Regions from separate parts of the Homo sapiens genome. Here all the other regions are linked to region 1. The links are contacts of gene promoters, found by promoter capture Hi-C in blood cells and fetal thymus (Javierre and others, 2016). All regions are on one chromosome and are shown on one strand. Each heading gives the region's core, a stretch centred on a gene start or on the middle of the fragment in contact. The rest is flanking DNA. Distances are from core to core; before and after follow the strand shown. Region 1 holds the start of CT75 (cancer/testis associated transcript 75). Region 2 overlaps LOC124907985 (a long non-coding RNA gene). Region 3 overlaps FARSB (phenylalanyl-tRNA synthetase subunit beta). Region 4 overlaps FARSB (phenylalanyl-tRNA synthetase subunit beta). Region 5 overlaps FARSB (phenylalanyl-tRNA synthetase subunit beta). Region 6 overlaps FARSB (phenylalanyl-tRNA synthetase subunit beta). Region 7 has its middle 240 kb from the start of CCDC140.

Region 1 (3,067 bases), core at 257-2,756:
GGGAGCCCCGGACTGCGGAGACGCAGGAGCCCGGGACGCAGCGGAGACGGTCTCCGGCCTCCCTCCGCTTGAGGACTACGAGTGCAAAATCTGCTACAACTACTTCGACGCGGACCGGCGCGCGCCCAAGCTGCTGGCGTGCTTGCACACCTTCTGCCAGGAGTGCCTGAGCCAGCTGCAGCTCCGCGCCGCCGCCGCCGCCGCCGCTGCCGCCGCGCCTGAGCGCCCGCCGCGCCCGCCGCCCTGGCTCTGCCCGCCCGGCGCCATCGCGTGCCCGGTGTGCCGCCACCGCACGCCGCTGCCCGACAGCCGCGTGCACGGCCTGCCCAACAACACCAAGCTAGCCGAGGCCTTCCCGCTGGCTTTGCGCGCAGCGCACGACCCGCTGCCCCAGGACCGCCTCCCGCCGCTGCCCGCGCGCCTGCCCGCGCCCGCTGCTGCCCCGCCGCCCACCCCGGCCCCGCCACCGCCGCCCTCCCCCGCCCCACCGCAGCCGCCGCCGCCGCCGCCTGCCGAGGACGCGGCCCCCGGGCCTCGAGCCCGCCCCGGCCTGCGCGCCCCGGGCGCCTACGACAGCTGCCAGAACTGCAAGCGCGCGGCGCTCACCGCTGGCTGCGTGTGCGTGGTCTTCTCCTTCCTCTCCATGGTGGTGCTGCTCTTCACCGGCCTCATCTTCGTCAACCACTACGGCGGCGGGGGAACCCCCGGAGGCGGGGCGCCCCCTGGCGAGGCACCGGCCACCGGGTCGCCCTCGCCCTCGCCCGTGGGGCCCATCTGCCTGTCGGTGGCCAGCATCCTGGCACTCTTCTCGGTCGTTGTCACCTGGGTCATCTGCTGGCTCAAGTATCGGCCCGAGGGTGCGGCCGCGGGCTCGACGGGGGGCAGCGGCGGCGGCGGCGGCCCGAGGGCACGGGCTGCGGCGGGCGGCGCGCGGAGGAGCGACACATAGCCGGGCCACGCCGCGGAACCGGCGCCTGCACCTCCAGCCCCGCGTGGCGGGAGAAGAGGGGGCCTCTGGCTCGGTGCGCTCGAGCTTCTGCACCCTCTCCCTGCTGCCCCCGGGCTCTCCTGGACTCACACTCTCTCCCAACTCGGCCACTGAGGAGCCTCGGTTTTCTGTCCCTCGGGCTTCTGTCGCCCCTCGCCCTTCGCGCTGGGCCAGAGAGGGAAACTGAACAGGAAGGGATGTTGGTGGGGGGGGGGGGTCTCTTTTGCCTGGACTGTGCAAAATTGACCTCCGCGTTATGCACCACCCTCGTCCTCGTCAGAATGTGCGGCCATCCCTCCCTAGAGCACAAAGATCTGCAGAGACGAAGCAAGGGGAGGGGGAGCCCCACCGCCCCGCCTGAAAGCTGGTTTTCTGGCCGCCAGGACTTGAGAGTTTCTTTAAAGGTGCAGCTGCGCGCGTGCACACGTGCATCTGTGGCGGCTGTGAATGGACTTGAATTGCCCGGAGGAAGAATGAATGGGATGTAAACGTGAGAGGAAAAGGATTTCCTGCTTCCTAGCGGTCCTGGAAAGGGAGAGATCCTGAGCGCTGAGAGTGACGGACACTCCCCGCCGGCACAGCGCGGGCGTGCCCGGAGCTCAGGCAGCAGCTGGGCGCGATGGGGCAGGTGCACGGCGCGCGTGCGCGATCGGAGCCGACTCGGAGTGGCCGAGGCTGCGGCGCGCCCAGGGCGGTGGGCCCTGTTGCCCATGGCCGGGTGTTGTCTGGAGCAGAGCCTAGAAGTCTCATCTCCTGGAAGCTTGTGGTTGTTTTATTCACGGTGTTACTGCCAGGAAGTCTTCTGTAACTAGACTCAGGGAGCTTAAAGAGCCTGTTCTCCCTTCTCTCAAAAGTGGCTTACGGTTGCCCCCACCTGGAAGATATTGAAAGCTATTCACACAGAATATAAACTAGATTTTCTCCTTCCCCTCGCCTTTTTTTCTTAATTTCATTTAACATATAATTTATTTTTGAATATATAAATCTGGAAATTTTTGTGCATTAAGATTTCCAGAAAATTGTTTGATAAGCAGTGACATTATTCCCATACCTCGAGTCCAAATACATTTCGAAATTAGGAGCAGAAAATAAAAGCCTGTTGGTAATTGATTCAATATTTTATACTGTGAAATAACTAATGACTTTTAATTATCTGATAAAATATAAACTAGTGCCCAAACATGAAATCAACTAACTGAAGGTCTTTCTGCCTTTGGCTACAAAAGATATATATCGTATACACTTATTAGAAAGTATTATATGATTTTGAATTTAGCTGTTTGATATTGTTGGAATTACTGAAATGTTCACATACAGTCACATGAGATGAAAAAGAATATATATCTATCTGATTTTGTAACTACAAAGATGAATTGCCAGTATATGTTGCAAGTGGGTTAGATGCCTTTTTTTTTAAGAAGGAAAACTGTTCCAAATGTATTTTATATGAAAACATTCTTTATTCCATCTTTTGAAATTTGGAATAAGACAAAGTTTTCATGCTTAAAAATCACAGAATCTACTGAAGGTATGCTATTATTCCTCGAGTATTTATGCAAGCTGTCTGCATGATATCCTGACACTATTCTATTAATTGAACTTGAATCGAGCATTTGTATCTATCATAGGAGTGAAGTAATTTATTGGCCATTGATAAGTGGTTTGGCTGCAATGTAGAAACTACAGTATGAAGTGTTTTATGTCTGCATTGTCTTAATAATAAAAACAAGAGGTATTTATAGAAATATCTATTTTCATGACATTAATTTCATGGTAAAATTGCTCCATTATTTGTGTGGCACTTCTCTTCCTTAAATACATGTCCCCTTCTAAATCCAAATTTCACATTTTTAAATGGGGCTGAGAGAGAAATAACTCACACATGGAAATGTGCGTTGCTAAGATGGGCATTTAGTGGGATTATTTCTAGGAATAATGACCCTGGAAGGCCCAGTGAGATCTGTTGTATTCTGAAGAGAGAAGTAACTTACATATTTACTACCACAATGTCCACTAAAACTAAACTCTGTTGTCAGACTTTGTTCTTGCCTTCTATGAAATGTTTTTAGGTTTCTATTA
Region 2 (3,067 bases), core at 158-2,657, 350 kb before region 1:
CAGGAACTGGCTGTTTTACTTCTTTGCGTTTTTTTTGGCTGCTCCAGGCTTCTTGGCTCCTGCAGGCCACCTGGATGTGTACATGCAGGTCACAGAGGTTATAATGGCTGAGCTTTGGCTCAGAGGCCTGACACAAGCTATTCATTGTCTTGTTCTCAGAGTACAGGGGGAAACAGACATAAGCAAAACAACTACACAATTTGGTGTATAATTACAAGTAAGACCCTACTGTGAATGACTAGAAGATTCCAAAACCAAGACTGCTGCACGGTCAGGGAAGTGTCTGAAGAAGTGCCCTTACTTGAGCTGTAGCCAAATCTAGTTAACCCAGGAGTCATCCGGGCAAAGGGAAGCACATATGCAAAGGTCCTGTGGCTGAACTCCAAGAAGAGCTCAAAGAGTGAGAGCTTGGGGGACAAGGGTGAGATTGGGGTGACATCAGGCAAAAATGGTGGGCAAGGTCCAGACCCTTGCAGACTGAGTTAGGGTTCAAGTTTGAACCCCAAGAGCAGTACAAGACACTGAAGGGTTTCAATTACGATGTGCTAAATGGATGGCTAGATTCTAAATAGTGCCTAGTCCTTGGGAGCAACCACTGCACTTTATTTATAAATATTAATTACCACATAGTTGAAAAACTCAAAATGATGAGCAGCTGTCAAGTCATTGCTGAAGAGGACTTGGAACAGGGCAAAACAATATAGTTGGCCCTCCTTTCTCCCCCATCCTATGCCCTTTTCTCCTTCAACATTTTAATACAAAGGGAGTTGGATTAAAACAAATACCAGGGCCACTTGGAGGAGTTGTTTGTGATTTTTTGTATGCAAAACTTGTTTGGGTTTCTTTTTCCTCCTACTTAAGGAGTCACTTTCTTCTTTCCTTTTAGATTTCTTCCTTGAATCTTCCCCCAGTGCTAGGTGGGGACACTACGAACACACCCTATGTCAGGCACTCTGCAGAGACCTCACAGGCGTAATCTCAAAAACCCTACAAAGTACGCATTCACTTCAACTTTGCAGCTGAGGAAATTAGGGCTTAAAGTCACACAGCTGGTAAATGGCAGAATAGAGAAGATTCAAATTTCTATAAAACCTGGAGAGGCGAGTCATCCCTTCATCAACTGAACCAAACATAGAACAAACATTTATGGAGTGCCTGCATTGCCTTGGGCATTGTCCTTGGTACTGATGACACAAACGTGAATTAAGATGAGGTCTCTGTGCCTTTGAGAATTTACACACATTTACTTATTGACTATTTGTGGAAAGCTTTCTATGTATTAGGCACTGGGTAGGGAAAGGAGATGAGTTACAATGGTGAATAAGAAAAGTCTTTGTCCTGCTGCAGCTCACAGTCTAGTGGGAGAAACAGAAAATACCTACCTATGTAGACAACCAAATGTGTGACAGTGCCCTGAAGGAAACACATAGGCTGATACAGAATAATGGGCACCTATTTAGAACAGATTGGAGGTAGCAAGAGTGGAAGTAGGCATATCCCCTAAGAAGGCTATTGTAGGATGATTGTAGAGGATGTGGAAGCTTGGGAAAATATAGACTTGAGATATGCATGGGACATATAAATGGTAGGACTCTTTGATTCATTGGATTTCGAATCTGTCGGTAAAGAAGAGCAAAACACCGAGAACTCCTGATCCTGATCACTTGGAGTTTGCTTGCTTAGTAATGTATTTGTTACTTTCCCAGAACACTAAGCTGATAGATAAGAACTGTCATATCCTGTCACAGCCATCACAGCCAACTGAAACAAAGCATGGACTCACCAGCACTCAGTCAATGCAACAGTCCATCACCATTTTAATCAACAATTAAATTATTTGCTCATCCTTTTGACATTCAACATGTATTTATTTGTTTACATATTGTGTGCCAAGTTACTTGAGTTAAGTGATCACTGGATTTACATAGTGGGAAAGTTTTAATTCATCAAGCTATTCAAAACAATTCTAAATGAACCTAAGATTCCAGAGCCTAACTGCTATACTAGGCTGTTTCTCAAATAATATAAGGAAGAAAGGGAGTGTTGTCACAACAGAGGAACAAGTCATTGAAGGGTAAGTAGAAGAGTGCTGATGACTGAACCTGTCATTTGGGTTGAGGTGTAGTTATCCATTCAGTCAACAAATATTTTAGCAAATGATTAAAGAAAAATACATTTGGCAGAAGTGTCAGCTTTGTTCCTATGGGCCTGGAATTGGCTAAATATGAGTGAATAATACATATATATGTTTACAATAATTCAATGAAAATGTACCAAGCACCACAGCTGTGGCAAGTCCTGGGGAAGGAACCAACACAGTCCCTTTGAAGATCTGGGATTCCACTGATGGGTATGGTTCCTCTTTCTACTTCTCAACTCTGATGAAGAAATAAGGTCACAGGCCAGATTGTCTCAACAATTATGAAAGGCTACTCTTGGAATTGAGAAATAAGAAATCATTTCCTTGTTCTAATTATTTCTTCCTGTGCACTTTACTATAACTAACATCTACTAGTAGAAAGGTGACAATGTCTTTCTATAACATGACGTTTTACTGTAACTTAAGTAAAAATGTTCTCATTGTTAGGTTAAAAAGGAAATAGTATTCTGTTAGTATTCTGTCTAGACAGAGTCCTTACAGGGGATAGTTTAGGGCAAAGGTCATGGTTCTGATTTTCATAAGATGCATTAATCATAAAAGTAAGTATTCTCTCTCTCTCTCACGCGTGCGCGCACAGACACACACACACACACACACACACACACACACACACAAACACACAACACTGAGAGCGGCCAGCTCTGGTTAAAGTAAAATAGAAGGCCATCACTATGGTAGTTTCAATGGAATGTGCTTTAAGAAGTTCTATTTTCAAGGCTCTTTTGAACAAAGTTTAAGAAATTTGCTGTGGTCCCTCTACATTCTTATTGTCTTCTCAATTAACTATTTGATCAATCTGACAAGGCTCGGGTATGTTTGCTCTGGGGAAAGTTGCAGGAACCTTGCCTGAGAAGGTGAGGCTTTGTAGCCCCACGGTTACCATCCAAGGTTTCCTTTCCTCCATAT
Region 3 (3,067 bases), core at 153-2,652, 320 kb before region 1:
TATTATTTTAGGATAAAGGCTCCAGTGTATAAACGGGTAATGCCTGATGGAAAAATCCAGAAATTGATTATCACAGAAGAGGTAATAAGGACAAATTCTTATTTTTCTTTTAAAAATTTTCTTTTGTACATGTCTGTATAAAGTGGGGAGGAAAGAGAAACAAAGCTTACTCTTTTTTTTTTGTTTTGAGACAGGGTCTGGCTCTTTTGCCCAGACTGGAATGCAGTGGTGCAGTCTTGGCTCACTGCAACCTCTGCTTCCCAGGCTCAAGTGATCCTCCCACCTCAGCCTCCTGAGTATTTGGGAGTACAGGCACACGCCACCACACCCGGCTAGTTTTTTGTATTTTTTAGAAATGGGGTTTCACCATGTTGCCCAGGCTGGTCTCATTCCTGAGCTCAAAGGATACTTCCCCTGCAGCTTCTTGAGTATTTGGGAGTACAGACACACGCCACCACACCTGGCTAATTTTTTGTATTTTTTAGAAATGGGTTTTCACCATGTTGCCCAGGCTAGTCTCAAATTCCTGAGCTCAAAGGATCCTTCCCCTGCAGCTTCTTGAGTATTTGGGAGTACAGGCACACGCCACCACACCCAGCTAATTTTTTGTATTGTTTAGAAATGGGGTTTCACTATGTTGCCCAGGCTGCTCTCAAATTCCTGAGCTCAAAGGATCCTTCCCCTACAGCCTCCTAAAGTGCTGGGATTATAGCTGTGAGCCTCTGTGCCTGGTCCAAAGCTTACCCTTCTAAAAAATGTGATTTTCTTTGATCATTTGCTAAAATGATTATATACTTAGCCCCTAGCCCTTAAAAAAACATTTTTTTTTAACCTAGGAATGAAAAAGAACAAAGCCTTTGCTTTCCATAAATAATTTTGGATAATAATATCCAATGCATGTTTAAAACACATTTGAGATATAATTGTTTAAATTGTGGAACATTAATGAAATTTTAAAAGATTTTAAACTTTTCAGAGGGGTTGTTTGGTAAATATATGAATTATGAGCAAACTTTTTCTCAATTATTTAATACATTTTCAGAAATCTTACTGAAATATAAATTCTGTGAAGGTAGTGACTTTTTCTCTTGTTTACCACTTTATTACTTGTTGACTGAATAAATTAATATATACTTGTTTGAATGAAAATGTATGCCAGTGGCAAGAATGCAGCTACCTTCCTATTACAAGATATTACAAAGAAAAGCCTTACTGTTTGCTATCTCTAATGATATTATGAATTTCAGACAGCTAAGATACGTCCTTTTGCGGTAGCAGCAGTTCTCCGTAATATAAAGTTTACTAAAGATCGATATGACAGCTTCATTGAACTTCAGGAGAAATTACATCAGAATATTTGCAGGTTTGTGGTTGCATTTTCTTTCTTCCTTGCCTTCCCCTTTCCCTTTGTCTCCCTATCTCCTTTCCATCCTGATCCCTCTCCCTCTTCTCTCTTGCCACTTCTGCCTTCTTTCTCTCTCTCTCCTTCCTTTCTTCCTCTGCAGATTTTTTACAAATCATTTCTAAATTAATAGTATGTGACAGAATATGAGAATTTCACTTTGCTTTACCAGATACCTTTTACTGCTTGTAAATGCCATATGCATGGAGAAACAGGAGGTATATTTTGAATACTGTATAGAGAAGAATTATCTAGTCCTAGAGACTTCCCTGCTTTTTGTTGTTGTTGTTTTGGTTCAGATCAGTCGTGGATTATGCTACTAAGTATAAACCGTGTTAATGAAGTATGATATATCATTTTTAAAATGGAAATAACATTTTGGCTTATTCTCACTTTTTGAGTGAGAGTAATTATAAATTGACAGAACTTGAGTTTAAATGACTAAATTTTACTTATTCAGTCTTTACATTACTATGCATAATTTCCTGCACAGCTCCTTTAGGGCAATAATCTTCACACCTGTATAATTTCTGAACTCTTAAAGGTCAGTGAAGGTAACAACGGGAATCCTTGAACAAATTTAAGTATTTCAAAATCCTAATGGAAACTGTATACTTACTGATGATGAGAAACCTCAGACTTTAGCCTAACATATTAAGCTTATTTGTGTTGGTTCTGAAATAGATCAGCATAAGTTACTGCATGTTGATCCAAAGGTATGATTGATAGTTATATATGTCTCAAATAAAAATAGAAAAAGAATTTTTATTTATTTTTTTGTGTGAGATCTGCTGCAGCTATTTGCTAATAATTGTAGTTTAGTAAACTGTAGAGCCTAGGAGGGGTTTATGTGTATGGGATGGGCTAGGGACAGGATAGAGGGAGAACCGTAGACATTTTCTGCTGTGGTGAAAAACATCTTTGTCCATGTGGTAGTAGCAACATTTTTTTCAGATTCCAAATAGCATTTATTCCCAGTCCTTGTATATAAAAGAGTTTATATGTCAGCTTGCTAATATGTCATTATTAAGCAAAACAATAACAATTTAAATATAATTTCAAAATTAAGAACAAAATACAAGATTTCTGACAAGTATAGGTATAACTTAAGTGGTTGAGCCAGATTATCTGCTCTGGCTCTATTATCTGTTTATTTTAAGAAGTTATTTTAATCTAAACAGACATTTTCTTACTTAATTTAACTTTAAGCTCTGTTTTATTTGGTATTTCTGGAAATCATGAGCTTTTTCTAAGGGGAAGAATTGAACACATCCTAATACTTTGGTGTGCCAGAGTTCTTTTCTGTCAGTAAATCCTAATTAACCTCTTTAATGAGCTTTGGAAGTTTACGTATTTCAAGGGATATATCGATATTGTCTAAGTTATTAAATTTATTGACAAAGTTGTTCATAATGTTTCTTTATTATCCTTTTAATATCTGTGGTATCTGTAGTGATGTCACCTCTTTCATTCCTCTGTCTTCTCTCTTTTTTTTCCTTTGATCAGTGTGGCTAGAGGTTTATCAGTTTTATTGATCTTTTTGTTTGTTTGTTTGTTTTGAGACAGGGTTTTTCTCTGTTGTCCAGGCTGGAGTCCAGTGGCATGATCATCTCATTGTAACTCCAGAACTCCTGTGCTCAAGTGATCCTCCTGCCTCAGCCTCCT
Region 4 (3,067 bases), core at 16-2,515, 300 kb before region 1:
GTTTGTTCATTCCTTTTTCAGAGAAACTCCAGAAAATCTTGCCAAACTTCTGACCAGGATGTATTTAAAATCAGAAGTCATAGGTGATGGGAATCAGATTGAGATTGAAATCCCTCCAACCAGAGCTGACATTATCCATGCATGTGATATTGTAGAAGATGCAGCTATTGCTTATGGATATAACAACATTCAGATGACTCTCCCGAAAACTTACACCATAGCTAATCAAGTAAGATTGCACCCTTAAATAAACACTCCTTATTGTTAGAAACTGATTATTTAATGCCAGGAAGGCTTCGAGAAAACAGAACGTAGGAATCAAGCAGTATTTGGACATGCTCTGCAATGAGAGGCATTTGCTGTGGAGAGGATACAAAACAGATGCCCAAATGATTAGAGTAAGTTGAAAACCTGTGATGACTAGTTCTTTGAAGAAAGACAAGTTTTGAGTTTGGAGCCCTTGTTGAATCTCTCAGAGATTCATTTTCTCAACTTGGGCCTGAAGGCAGAAGCTGTGTGTGGGAGAGATGGAAGTGGGGGTGGTTTGTACATCTGTGTAGGAGCAGAGGGGTGGCAGAGCGGTGGGGAGGGAGGAGGTAATATTGATAGGGAAATAGTGGCATTAGCAGTACGTTAGTAAGGGTGAAAAGGTTTTTAATCTTTTAAACATTTTTATTTAAAAAAGTTTTAATGGCATGTTCTGTATAAATCTCCCTTTTAAAAAACAAGAAATAATTGCGGTGAAATCAAGTGGATGCTTTTTTTTTCAGTTTCCTCTTAATAAGCTCACTGAACTTCTCCGACATGACATGGCAGCCGCTGGCTTCACTGAAGCACTTACCTTTGCCCTGGTATGTCTTACATGCTTTTTCTGCCCAGATGATTATTTACTTAGACTCTCTGAATTATTTATTCTATGATGCTTTATAAGAATTTATAAAATCTAGACTGTTAGAACTTCCAGATTCTGGAAGAATAACTTTGTTACTTGAGATTATACAATTCCTGGTAAAGTAATGTTGAAGCTTTTGTTTTTACAGCCACAAAAGAAAATGAAGGCCTAGAAAAAAATACCTCAAATGAGAGATGACAAAGTATTTTATAGTTTCATGTGAGTGTTGAGAGTTCACAATGTATTTCATAACCAAATTTATTAAGTTAGAATATTTGGTCTTAATTTGGTTATGGCTGTGCCCACTAGATGCCGTCCTGGGTAAAGGCTTGTGGACTGTTCCACATTAAATTAATTTCTTTGTCTTTGAACATGTTCACAAACATTTGCTTTGAGTTGAAAAGCTGACATAAAAGGCCTAAATCAGGAAATGACTTTTATTACAAAATCAGAAGGAAATTTCCCTCCCCCACCAGATTGACCATTTGAAAGAATAAAATGTGTATGCAATTTGTAGTTCCGTTTTTCCCTCTTGCTGAGCATTTCTGTGGTGCCTGCAATGTAGTTCTTGAGCATTCAAGTATGTTTAATCTATGAGGGGAAAGGAAGCTTCTTCTTTTTCTCCCCTGCAACTTAGCCCTACCTCTGAAATTCTCAATATTTTAGAGTATTTAAGGGACTCTACTTCTAGTTTGCTTAATAAATATTAAGCATTAAGATTTTTCTGATTCAGGAGTCATTCATTCAACATTTGTTGAGCATTTATTATATGTCAGGCACTGCACCAATGAGGAAGCCTGAGGCTGAGAGAGGATAAGTACGTAGCACATTTTACACGGACAGCAGGAGAACTGCTGTGTTCCAGGCCACCATACCTGCATGATCTCATTATATCATGAGCAGGGTCCTGACCTTTAGCCTCCTAGAACAGTGCTTTTCCATGGTCTCATACCGTGTACACTAGGTCTGTAATGCCATGTCATTCATCTTTGCACATATATATACACACATTTGTAGTTGTGAGCATCCAGGATTTCATATAAAATGAAGTACCAAAAATAACATTGAAAAATATATTTTTATTTTTTAAAACATATGAGTGTCACAGGAATACATCTTATTTTAAAGGACTCATACTTTAACCATGTAGATTAAACCATAACAGTTCTTTTCCCCACTTCGAATCCTCTTTTCCTCCCCAGAAACAACTGCTGTTAAAACTTGGGTATGCATTTTTCCCTGCCCTTTTATATTAGTGGTGCCAGTTTGAAAAAAGTTACTTATTACTTTATCCTTTTTATACTTATACTTTATACTTATTACAATATCCATTGCCAGTTTGATTTTGTGACCTTAGAGCCTCATGTGTCTTCGAAGGAGCACAGAGGCCGAGTCTTGACTAGTGGCTGCTCTGCAGGGAATGTTTACCCTGTGCCAAGGGCTTTGTGTACATGATTCCATTTCTTCTCAGTATACTCCTGTGAAGTGGGCATTCCTGTCTTTCACAGCAGTTAATTTAAGTAACTTGTCCTACGCCATGGCTGTGGATCAGGGATTCCCGCCCATGCCTGTCTGCATCCAAGGCCTGTGACTGAACTGTCACACCAGGGATGTTAGAAACAGTCTGTTTAGCTGTCCAAAGTCACTTTAATACATTCAATGTTTATCACTGGGGGGAAGAGAAAGGAGTGAGCTCCTAGAGGGTTTCAGATTTGTACTAAATTTTCCTGTAGGAATTTCAACATTAAAGATGTTTATAAAGATGTTTATAGGCAAGCCTAAGCATCGCTGAGCAAAGATGGTCTATGTTGTTAAATCCAGTTTTGCACAAGAGTAACAGCCATTTTTTTAAGCCTAGTCTCTGACTTTCTAAGTGTAAATAATTCACACTTCATCATATTGATTTTTGCTATATCTGCATAGTAGTTGTAATATTTTCTTTTAAATTGGCTCACTTTTAAGTTGGCTTATGTACTTCAGCCTTGTTATAGGAATAATATCTGTAAAAACTATAAGGTTCATTTACTTGTTGTATTTTTCTAACACATTAAAATAAACACATAAATATTAACATTAAAAAAGTTCCTGGCAGGCATGGTGGCTCATGCCTGTAATCCCAGCACTTTGGGAGGCCGAGGCGGGCGGATCACTTGAGGCTACAAGTTCGAGACCAGT
Region 5 (3,067 bases), core at 393-2,892, 280 kb before region 1:
CATTTTAACCTAGGGTAATTGTTAGCCTAACTTTGGTCATAGTCATTACCTTACTTGCTTCATAGTTTTCCAATCTATGTTTGTTCTTTAAACAATGTAATTTAGTTTTGCCTCTTTTTGAACCTTGTGGTCTCTTTTTAATTTTCATTTACTATGATAAGTATTTGCTGTTGCTGTGTTATGATAAACCATCATAAAGATGCTTTCTAATAGCCGCTTAGTATCCTGATGAGTGATTGCACTGTACTTTATGTAGCCATCCCTAATATAGGTTGTTTATAATTTTACTATTGGAAATAATGTTGTAGTAAATGTCTTTCTACATAAAGCCTTTTTGAATTTAGGATTATTTCCTTTGGGTAGTATTAATATTATGAATAAGAGAGTATGAAGCTTTAAGGCTCTGATATATTGGTAAATTGTTTACAAAGAATTTTACCAACTTATACCTCAGTGAAGCCTTATTTTCCCTGGTCAGCATTGAGGGTTTTTCACTCTTTCCCCCAAATAAAACACCTTAGGGAATTTGATGAGCTGAAAAAAGACTATTTTATCTTATTTTGCATTTGTGAGGTTGAATCCTTCTCTGAATGTTTAATATTTGGTTTTCTTTTTTGTTGACTTTTTCTAAGTTTGTACTGGGGTAAATCAGTTTCTTAAGCAATGGTTAATACAGCGTTGTGACCAGTTCCTTTATTTTTCTAGATGTAGGTGCAAAAAACTACAGACATCTCTGTGCTGTTTATTACAACAAGAATCCTGGGTTTGAGATCATTCATGGGCTGCTGGACAGAATTATGCAGTTGCTCGATGTGCCTCCTGGTGAAGACAAGGGGGGATATGTGATCAAAGCATCAGAAGGTAAGACAGATGAGCCGAATCCAGAGTTAGTGACAGTGTCAGGAAGAGGCTACACCTTGTTTTTGATGAAGTTGGTAGTTTTGATTTGGGATTTTAGAAAGAAAGGGAGAGTTTTATTTCAATTAATTGTCAATATTATCCAGAAAATATCCCCTTTCCCTCCAGCATTTTAAGAAAACACTTTTCAGAACTCTCGTAAGTGCTGCACAGTATACTTTCGTTCCAACTGAGCTGTAACCCCTAGTTACTGGCACCTTTAAGCCATCAAAATGGCTAAATCACTGGCACCTTTAAGCCATCAGCACATGGTGAACCCAGAAGTTTTAACTGGAAGCTGGTAAGACCTAAAGTGATGGTTTGCACTCAAAAGCTGCCTGTCTGATGGCTTTAAGACAAAAGAAAAAAGAAAACAAAAACAAAAACCTCAGAAGTTATTCTGAAAGATTTCACACATGTTAATCAAGTCATAAAGTTTGCAGAGCAAGGGTGGGAATCCTCGTGTATAAAATCCCAAGTACAGTAAAATCTTTGTTGGAGAGTTTAAGCTAGGCTAACTAAATGGTATATATGTGCTCCTAATATTCTATTAATAGTTTCTCATTATCCAAGGAACTCTGAAATTTTTGCTTTTCATATTTCTGCAGCTTCAATCTAAATTTATTTTGTTAGATGAAAGGTCCAGAAACAACTTGAGAGAAATATTTCACCACTTATTCCTACCGTTTACCTCACTGTGCTTTATAACTCTATTTGGCATCTTAAATTTCTAACAGAACATTTACTTTTAAAGTGTTATTTAACAGTTAGTAATGAGATTTGGTGGGGTAATATGTTTTTTTCTTTTATTTATTAGTCCTCAGGGATTGTTTTTGTTGGTGGTTGTTTAATTTTTGTTTTTGTTTTCATTTTGAGACTCCTTTGAAAATAACCCTGAAATCTATGGGTTTTTTTAGATTGAAGATGTGTGTGGTTCTTTTTTTTTTTTTAAATAAATGAGAGATTAAATAAGCAGGAAGTTGTTTCTTACCCACTTTCCATGAGAAATAATAAAATGCAGACATTGTTATGCTTGTGGAGTTCTAGATGTTAGAACTGGATTTTGGAGTTCATCCAGCCCACGAGCCCGGTTTTATGAGTGAGGGAACTGGGGTTAGGCAAGTTAAAGAAGCCGGAGCCGGGTCATGCATGTTGACCCCACAGCTTCTGCCTCCCAGTATCCTTGCCAGTGTTGTCTGCCTTTTTAGTGCCTGTATATACTCATTCACCAGTTTACCATCCTAGAATTTTGCTTTAAGACCAGGTCATCCAGGCTTATGGCAACCTGTAAGCTGATGTGAAGCATTTCTTTTCCTTCCATGCACAATCTTCTCAGAAATCTTATTTCTTAAACAGTTTAGCTAGATAAAAATTTGATGCAGATTGCGTCCTGAACGTGAGGTCCAATTTCTTTCATACTTGAAAGGTTGCAAAGAGCTGAAATGGTAAATGAGAGCATAGCTTGTGGTGGATGTGATGCTTTGTGTAACCTTTAGATGGATAATATTTCTGTAAACTGGTATCTTAATATTGTGACTTCTCCTGCTTCAATCAGTTCCTTAGATATTTATTTATCAGAAGAGTGTGAGTTCCTAGTTATAAGGCAGACTTCAGAAAAGACAATGATAAGTAGGACACAGGTGCTGCTGTCAAGCAACCAGCCAGGGAAAAGACCACCACATACCGACCCTCAAACCAAGATGTTAAAATGATTGTCTTGATGTTTCCGAAGAGGAAGAAAGTGCAACTTCTTCAGGGCATCCAGAAAAACAATAGGGAGTTTCTGCAAAGTGAGATGGGCCTTTGGAAGAATAGGTGGAGACAGGGGAAGCAAGGCAAACTAATGATAGGAAACACAGGCTGTATGTTTGGAAACACAGCAGACAGTGTAGTGTGGTTTGGCTATAGGGTGAGGAAGGAGCTTGAAACTATATTTGGAGTCTTGAATGCTAGGGAAAGGCTGCAGCTAGTTAGGAGAAAAGCATTAAAGCTTCTTTTTTTTCTTCTTTTAAAGCAGGTAGGTGATATTAGATCTGTACTTTAAAAGGATTAATTTAGCAGCAATATGTAGGTTGGGTGGGATGGAGAGCAGAGGTGAAGAGAATGGTGGGAAGGGATTTTAGCACATTGTAGAGGAGTGATAATGAGGACTTGGCCTGGATCGTGCTCA
Region 6 (3,067 bases), core at 157-2,656, 260 kb before region 1:
ACTTCTAGAATAGTCTTTTCTTCACTTTCATGACCTTGACACTTGAAGATTACAGGCCAGTTATTTTGTAGCATGTTCCTCAATTTTGGTTTGTCTGATGTTTCTTCACTAATTAAATTCCTGTTAGGCATCTTTGGAGGAATGGTAGAGAAGTAATGCTAACTTCCCAATGCATGCTATGAAGTGGCACGCAATTTTCATTTATCCAATAACTGATAATGTTCACTGTAATCACTTAATTAAGGTTGTAGCTACCAGTCATCTGTACTGTAAAGTTATTCTTTTCTCCATTATAATTAATAAATGTCTTGTGGGGGAAGAGCTTTGAAATTATGTAAATATACTGTTTCTAATCAGTTTTCCTATATACTTAGTTATGTCAGTATGGACTCATTGCTGCTGATTTTAGTCAGTGTATTTAGATCCATTACAGTCATTTATTTTGATGCTCAAATTGTCCCCAGTTTGGCCAGCAGGAGTCCCTTGAAGCTGGCTTCAGTTTGCTTTTAACATGTTCCCCTCCCTGTGTCCATGTGTTCTTGTTGTTCAACTCCCTCTTATGAGTGAGAACATGCAGTGTTTGGTTTTCTGTTCCTGTGTTAGTTTATCTCTTTTTCTTTAGTGAGAATCTTGGTTCCTAGTGAATTTACATTATTGCTCTTTTTTTTTTTTTCTTTTGGAGACATAGTCTTGCTCTGTCTGCCAGGCTGGAGTGCAGTGGCGTGATCTCGGCTCACTGCAACCTCTGCCTCCTGAGTTCAAGCAATTCTCCTGCCTCAGCCTCCCGAGTAGCTGGGATTACAGGTGCCTGCCACCACACCCGACTAATTTTTTGTATTTTTAGTAGAGATGGGGTTTCGTCATGTTGGCCAGGCTGGTCTTGACTCCTGACCTCAAGTGATCTGCCTTCCTCGGCCTCCCAAAGTGCTGGGGTTACAGGCGTGAGCCACTGCGCCCGAATTTACATTATTGCTTGTTTGCTCATTCTGTTTATCTATTTATCTATCATAGTTTCAAAATAAAAATACTATTATCAACAATATGATTATTGAAAGCAGCTTAAAATTTATCCTTATTACTTTTTGTACTTAGAATATAGGCTATAAATAAGGGACGTAGAGAGAACTCTGGCTTCCACACCGTTCCCTCCCTGCCTCTATAGGTTATGATTTTTATTAGTTTTCAGTTTATCCTTCTGATGTATGTGTGCACACACCTGTGTGTGTGTGTTCATATTCTCTTCTACTCTTTCAGCTGAGGGGCTGATACTTTACACACTGTTCTGTACCTTTCTTTGTTTTACCTGACAGCCTACATTGGAGATGATTCTGTAGCAGCATATAGAGATCTTCCTCCTTTCTTTTGACTTCTCTGGGGTACTTCATTTTATGGAGTTCCACAGTGTAATCAACTAATTTCCTGTTGATTAACATTGAGTTGTTTCCAATCTTTTGCTATTACAGATTGTGTTACAGAGAATAGTCTTGTGCATATGTTATTTGGTAATGCCACTGTATCTCTGGGACAGATTCCTAGAAGTATGGGATCACTGGGACAAAGTAAATAAATTCATATTTTCACTAGACACTGCCAAACACCCCTCCATAGGATTTCTAGTTCCAACGTTGTACAAACGCTGCAGCAACACTTGAGAGGACTTATTTCTCCACAGCCATGGTCACCAGACTTCTTGTCTTTGCCAGTCTTTCAGATGGGAAATGGTGTCTCACTGTAGTTTTAATTGAATTTCCCTTGCCGTGAGCAAATGTAACATATTTACATGTTTACAAGGACATTTTTATTTCCTTTTCTGTGATCCACCTGTCTTCTTCCTTATTTCTTTAGGTTTGTCAATCTTCTCTAGTTTTAGGAACCTTCTATGTAGTGTGGCTGTCAACCCTTCGTGATATACATATGCTGTTTTTTCAGTTTGTCAACTGTCTTTTGACTCCAACTGCTCAGAAGCTAATAGCATATCTATTATGGTTTATCTAGGAAATTAGAAAATTGTTGAAAAACCACTTTTTTGACATTTCCTGTATTTATTTCTAACAAGCAAGATTCTAGAAACCTTTAATAACTAAATGCTTGCTCTGATTTTTAAAAATATGTTAATCCATAGTCTGCTTTGTTTAAAAATTGGAAATGTTTCTTTTACTATGGACTTTTGGGGCAGTGGGGATGCAGAAACATAACAGAACATCCATTAGAGATCTGTCTTCTCCAGTTTCATTCATCTGTCAGCACATTTCTTCTCTCCCATATTATTCCTTTTTTGAGAGACTCCTTTCTGCTTTTTAGCTTAAATTACTCTTCTATATATATATTACATCATTGCAGAAATCCAACAGATTGACATTCATTTAAAGTATTCCCAATACCTTCATAAAAATGACAGGAGGCCCGTTAACTTTACTGAAGTCTCAGTTGTGGTTTTTACTTTGACCAATTATTTTGTTTTACACTGGGGTTGAATAGCTGTGGCCTAACCTTGGGCTTTTTGAGAAATGAATGCTGTCATTCATTTGGGTGACTTGGGCAACCTTGGAAATACATCTGAGCACCTGTTGGCTCATGTGGGCTGTGGGTCAGGAATGTGATCTTCTTGCTGAGGGTCTTATGAGGCCAAGTAAAATGTCTCAAGACCCCCTGGCCCTTCCTGTCTTGTAGGGTTTTTTGTGTTATAGTTGTACTTTCCTCTACTTCTCCCCTTCCAAGAACCAGAACCCTCATTTTCCCCCTTCCGAGTCACTATATTTTGTCGCTCACCTTTCAGGAGATAAAGGTTTCTAGTCACTCTCATAATCCCTAAAGTCCCTTAGTTTGTGAATTGCATTCTCTGAAAAAAGGTTTCCTCTTGGAATTATTTTCCTAGGTTGATTTGGGGCATTTTTTTTTCCTACCAGTGGAATTTTTTTTTAAAGGCAGTAGTTGTGTTATGCAGGAGAAAGTTTTTTATTGGTGTTGTACAAGATGAGATCAATATAATCTATTTGTGGTTTGTTGCTAGTACCACTACTAGAAGTGCATTGTTTAACATTTTGCTATATAAGGAGCTATACAATGA
Region 7 (3,067 bases), core at 406-2,905, 260 kb after region 1:
CACCCATCTCACAGGAGAGATGTGAGGTTTCAATGAATGGACACATGTAAAGTGCTGGAGTGAGCACTCAGCCCTTAGAAGTTCTCAGTGAGTATTAGCTCTCATCATTATTGTCAATGCAATTATTAAGTTTAAAAACTTCTTGCCAAATCATTAAGATAAATGATCTGAATTTGTAATCTAGACTGACAGCAGTTTTGATTAACAAGCATGCTTTGACAAGTATTTTTCATTTAGAAAAAATATTCTTTATACTTTTAGGCTAATATTTGTAATAACCTTAAGAGTGTAATAGCATCCCCACTCTCAGAACCTCAGATAGTTTTAAGTGTTCGATTCAAAGTCATATGGATGAAGTGGCTAGAAAGCAAATTAAAGTATTTTGGTAATTGTTTTTCACTCACTGAATCTTAAAAATCCCAAAGCTTTAGGCATTCTCCAACTGTACTTAAAAGATAAGGCTTTTTAGAAGTCAAGAAGGATCCATATCTAGATGTGTAGACAGATCTAGTTTACAAGACTAAGCTAACCTAATTTGAAGGTTAATCTCTCAGATGGGAGGGAGAAAGAATAAACAGAACATTCATACATATGAACTCATCTGATCTTTACAAAACCTGTGAATCATGTTCTTTTTCCCTACAAAAATATTTTAAGTGTATTGTATGTTTTAAACATTTGAGAAAAGAGGAGTGAACAAGATAAACAAAGTCCCTGCCCTCATGGAGTTTAATTTCCAAAGATGATGAGGAGACAGGTAAGAATGTCCATTTGGCTGATAGAGAAACAAGTGTTAAGGGATAAACAACCCACTCCCTTAAGTTCCCTTAAGGGATAAACAACCCACTCCCTTAAGCTATTGCATCGCAGCAGATTCGAACAGAGTTCTTGCTAATGGCACCCCTTTGATAATTCCGCTACACTTTCAGCTGCCTGCTGGGAAAAGTTCAGGCATGCTTTTGACAGTGAAGGCACAGCAGTAAACAGGCTGCTCCTGCCACATTACAAAAGTGAGTATGACTTTCTTATTTTTGTTTGTCTGGGATGCAATCGGATTTTAGTGGAAAGGCATTGAAATTGACATAAAAAAATCTGTGTTAGGTTCTTAACTTTGCCATTTCTGAGCATATCGCTGATTTTCAGTTTTCTCACCCCCACCCTGGTGAGAATTAGAGGCATCTCTTGAGACTTTTGCAAGGATTAAATAAGCCAATGTTTATGAACATCTAGAAAAGAGGTTGGTCCACAGAAGGAAGGCAATAAATCTGTAGAGATGATGACACTGAGTATCTAGTATTATTTACTTGTGGAATTAACCGAAAAGGCATGGTTAATGCCTCATCTCCCCCTTAGGGAAATAGCTCTAGTCCTTGTTTAACTTTATCTTACTCTCTAATATGGGAATGATAGCATCTGCCAAACAGGGTGGTGATTAAGGATTAGCAATAGACCATAGAATGCACCTAGTACAGTTTCCAGCATAGAACCAGCATTCACGAAATTGTAGCAATCACGATTATTACTGTTTATGAGTCTAATAAAGCACACATTCCTAAGAATGTAAACTGTTAGAAATTTGGATTGAGATACTGTTGATGGTTTTATTACAAAGACTGAAATGTCTTATTCAAAAATCCTGAAAAAAAAAAACCATGGAAAAGACTAGAAAAAACACTAGGAAAGAAGTCAAATTTAAGTATGGGTCATTTTTCCTTTGTCAATTGGGAGTTCATAAGATTTTAAATGCCCCTCCAAAAGCATATCATCACATTTCAATATTTTTCTGGCTTTATATATAATTAGAAATCATGTATATTCTATAGCTCATGAGGTACTGGAGATCTCTAGGAGAGAAAGCATGTTTATGGGGACAAGATTCTTCGGCTGCCTTCACAATTATCTGATAAATGTAGGTCTAGCTTCATCCATGTACCTGCAAAGGACATGAACCCATTCTTTTTTATGGCTGCATAGTATTCCATGGTGTGTATGTGCCACATTTTCTTTATCCAGTCTATCACTGATGGGCATTTGGGTTGGTTCCAAGTCTTTGCTATTGTAAACAGTGCTGCAATAAACATACGTATTCTCAGCAAACTAACACAGGAACAGAAAACCAAACACCACATGTTCTGACGCATAAGTGGGAGTGTAACAGGGAGAATTCATGGACACAGGGAGGGGAACATCACACACCAGGGCCTGTCAGAGGTTGGGGCGCAAGAGGAGGGAGAGCATTGGCATAAATACCTAATGCATGTGGGGCTTAAAAGCTAGATGATGGGTTGATAGGTGCAGCAAACCACCATGGCACATGTATGCCTATGTAACAAACCTGCACGTTCTGCACATGTATTCCAGAATTTAAAGTATAATAACACACACACACACCAAATTAAAAAAAAAAGTATTGTCTAAAGGATGAGCAAAATAAATAATTTTTTTTAAAAAATGTGGGTCTAGCTGGCTGTGGTGGCTCATGCCTGTAGTCTCAGCTTCTTGGAGGCTGAGGTGGAAGGATCATTTGAGATCAGGAGTTTGAGACGAGCCTGGGCAACACAGTGAGACCCCTGTCTCAAAATAAAAATAAAAATAAAAACAAATAAATGCAGGTTCAGCAGGACTAAATATTTAAAACTGAGAGTTTGGCATTGCAGGCACAGACTGTTGTTAAAGGAAGTTAAATGGGAAGGGAGTTCTTCATTTCTAAACATTACTTGAGAAACCAGAATTCAATCTAAAATACCTGGCTTCATGTCCTCTTTACAAAGGTACCTATGCATAGGACTGGATCTAGATTTACTTCCGAACTCAAAGCATGTTGCCCTACAAAGGAGTGGGTTGGTGATAATGAACAAATTATGGGCATCATCCTTTCAAGCTTTCTTTTTGGGTGAAGAGTGATTTTCCTCTCCCAAAACACACAGGCATGCACACTTACACACGCACCCCCTTCAGTATGCCATCAGCTGTTCTAATTATGGGGTAATTGGCAAGATAGAAGCTCAACCTTCATTGCATTCTTCAGGGAGAAACAAGGGGCTTCCTCTGCTAGAGGGAGTTAGTG

The links. Contacts are between HindIII fragments. The CHiCAGO score rates a contact against its expected background, and 5 or more counts as called.
Region 2: a fragment that was not itself captured here is called in contact with the fragment with the promoter of CT75 in region 1 in 3 of 17 cell types (monocytes, M1 macrophages and M0 macrophages); the score reaches 6.3 in monocytes.
Region 3: a fragment that was not itself captured here is called in contact with the fragment with the promoter of CT75 in region 1 in 8 of 17 cell types (M1 macrophages, monocytes, erythroblasts and 5 more); the score reaches 8.9 in M1 macrophages.
Region 4: a fragment that was not itself captured here is called in contact with the fragment with the promoter of CT75 in region 1 in 8 of 17 cell types (megakaryocytes, M0 macrophages, M1 macrophages and 5 more); the score reaches 11.7 in megakaryocytes.
Region 5: a contact is called between a fragment that was not itself captured here and the fragment with the promoter of CT75 in region 1, in 3 of 17 cell types (M1 macrophages, M0 macrophages and megakaryocytes). The highest score is 7.7, in M1 macrophages.
Region 6: a fragment that was not itself captured here is called in contact with the fragment with the promoter of CT75 in region 1 in 1 of 17 cell types (M2 macrophages); the score reaches 5.4 in M2 macrophages.
Region 7: a fragment that was not itself captured here is called in contact with the fragment with the promoter of CT75 in region 1 in 1 of 17 cell types (M2 macrophages); the score reaches 5.8 in M2 macrophages.

The regions. Positions count from the first base shown.
Region 1 is chr2:222,316,910-222,319,976 of GRCh38, reverse strand. CT75 (cancer/testis associated transcript 75) reads right to left here and starts at 1,506. Exons shown (of 4, transcript NR_136642.1): 1 at 607-1,506. RNF228 (ring finger protein 228) reads left to right here. Exons shown (of 1, transcript NM_001395871.1): 1 at 1-3,067. The coding sequence ends at 949. RefSeq lists a silencer at 592-921 and enhancers at 1,392-1,441, 1,218-1,813. The HindIII fragment of the contact is 3,961 bases long and covers 1-1,750 here.
Region 2 is chr2:222,667,639-222,670,705 of GRCh38, reverse strand. It overlaps LOC124907985 (a long non-coding RNA gene), which reads right to left. Exons shown (of 2, transcript XR_007088095.1): 2 at 1-70. Among named protein-coding and RNA genes, the nearest start is that of MOGAT1, 2.5 kb to the left of the region's middle. The HindIII fragment of the contact is 273 bases long and covers 1,271-1,543 here.
Region 3 is chr2:222,637,876-222,640,942 of GRCh38, reverse strand. FARSB (phenylalanyl-tRNA synthetase subunit beta) reads left to right here. Exons shown (of 17, transcript NM_005687.5): 4 at 12-81; 5 at 1,248-1,363. Among named protein-coding and RNA genes, the nearest start is that of FARSB, 17 kb to the left of the region's middle. RefSeq lists a silencer at 2,549-2,696. The HindIII fragment of the contact is 1,322 bases long and covers 742-2,063 here.
Region 4 is chr2:222,621,434-222,624,500 of GRCh38, reverse strand. FARSB (phenylalanyl-tRNA synthetase subunit beta) reads left to right here. Exons shown (of 17, transcript NM_005687.5): 12 at 22-229; 13 at 771-851. Among named protein-coding and RNA genes, the nearest start is that of FARSB, 33 kb to the left of the region's middle. The HindIII fragment of the contact is 476 bases long and covers 1,028-1,503 here.
Region 5 is chr2:222,597,722-222,600,788 of GRCh38, reverse strand. It overlaps FARSB (phenylalanyl-tRNA synthetase subunit beta), which reads left to right. Exons shown (of 17, transcript NM_005687.5): 16 at 706-861. Among named protein-coding and RNA genes, the nearest start is that of FARSB, 57 kb to the left of the region's middle. The HindIII fragment of the contact is 2,494 bases long and covers 396-2,889 here.
Region 6 is chr2:222,580,537-222,583,603 of GRCh38, reverse strand. All of the region lies in intron 16 of FARSB (phenylalanyl-tRNA synthetase subunit beta), which reads left to right. Among named protein-coding and RNA genes, the nearest start is that of FARSB, 74 kb to the left of the region's middle. The HindIII fragment of the contact is 5,883 bases long and covers 1-3,067 here.
Region 7 is chr2:222,053,368-222,056,434 of GRCh38, reverse strand. No RefSeq gene overlaps it. Among named protein-coding and RNA genes, the nearest start is that of CCDC140, 240 kb to the left of the region's middle. RefSeq lists an enhancer at 2,824-3,067. The HindIII fragment of the contact is 2,456 bases long and covers 428-2,883 here.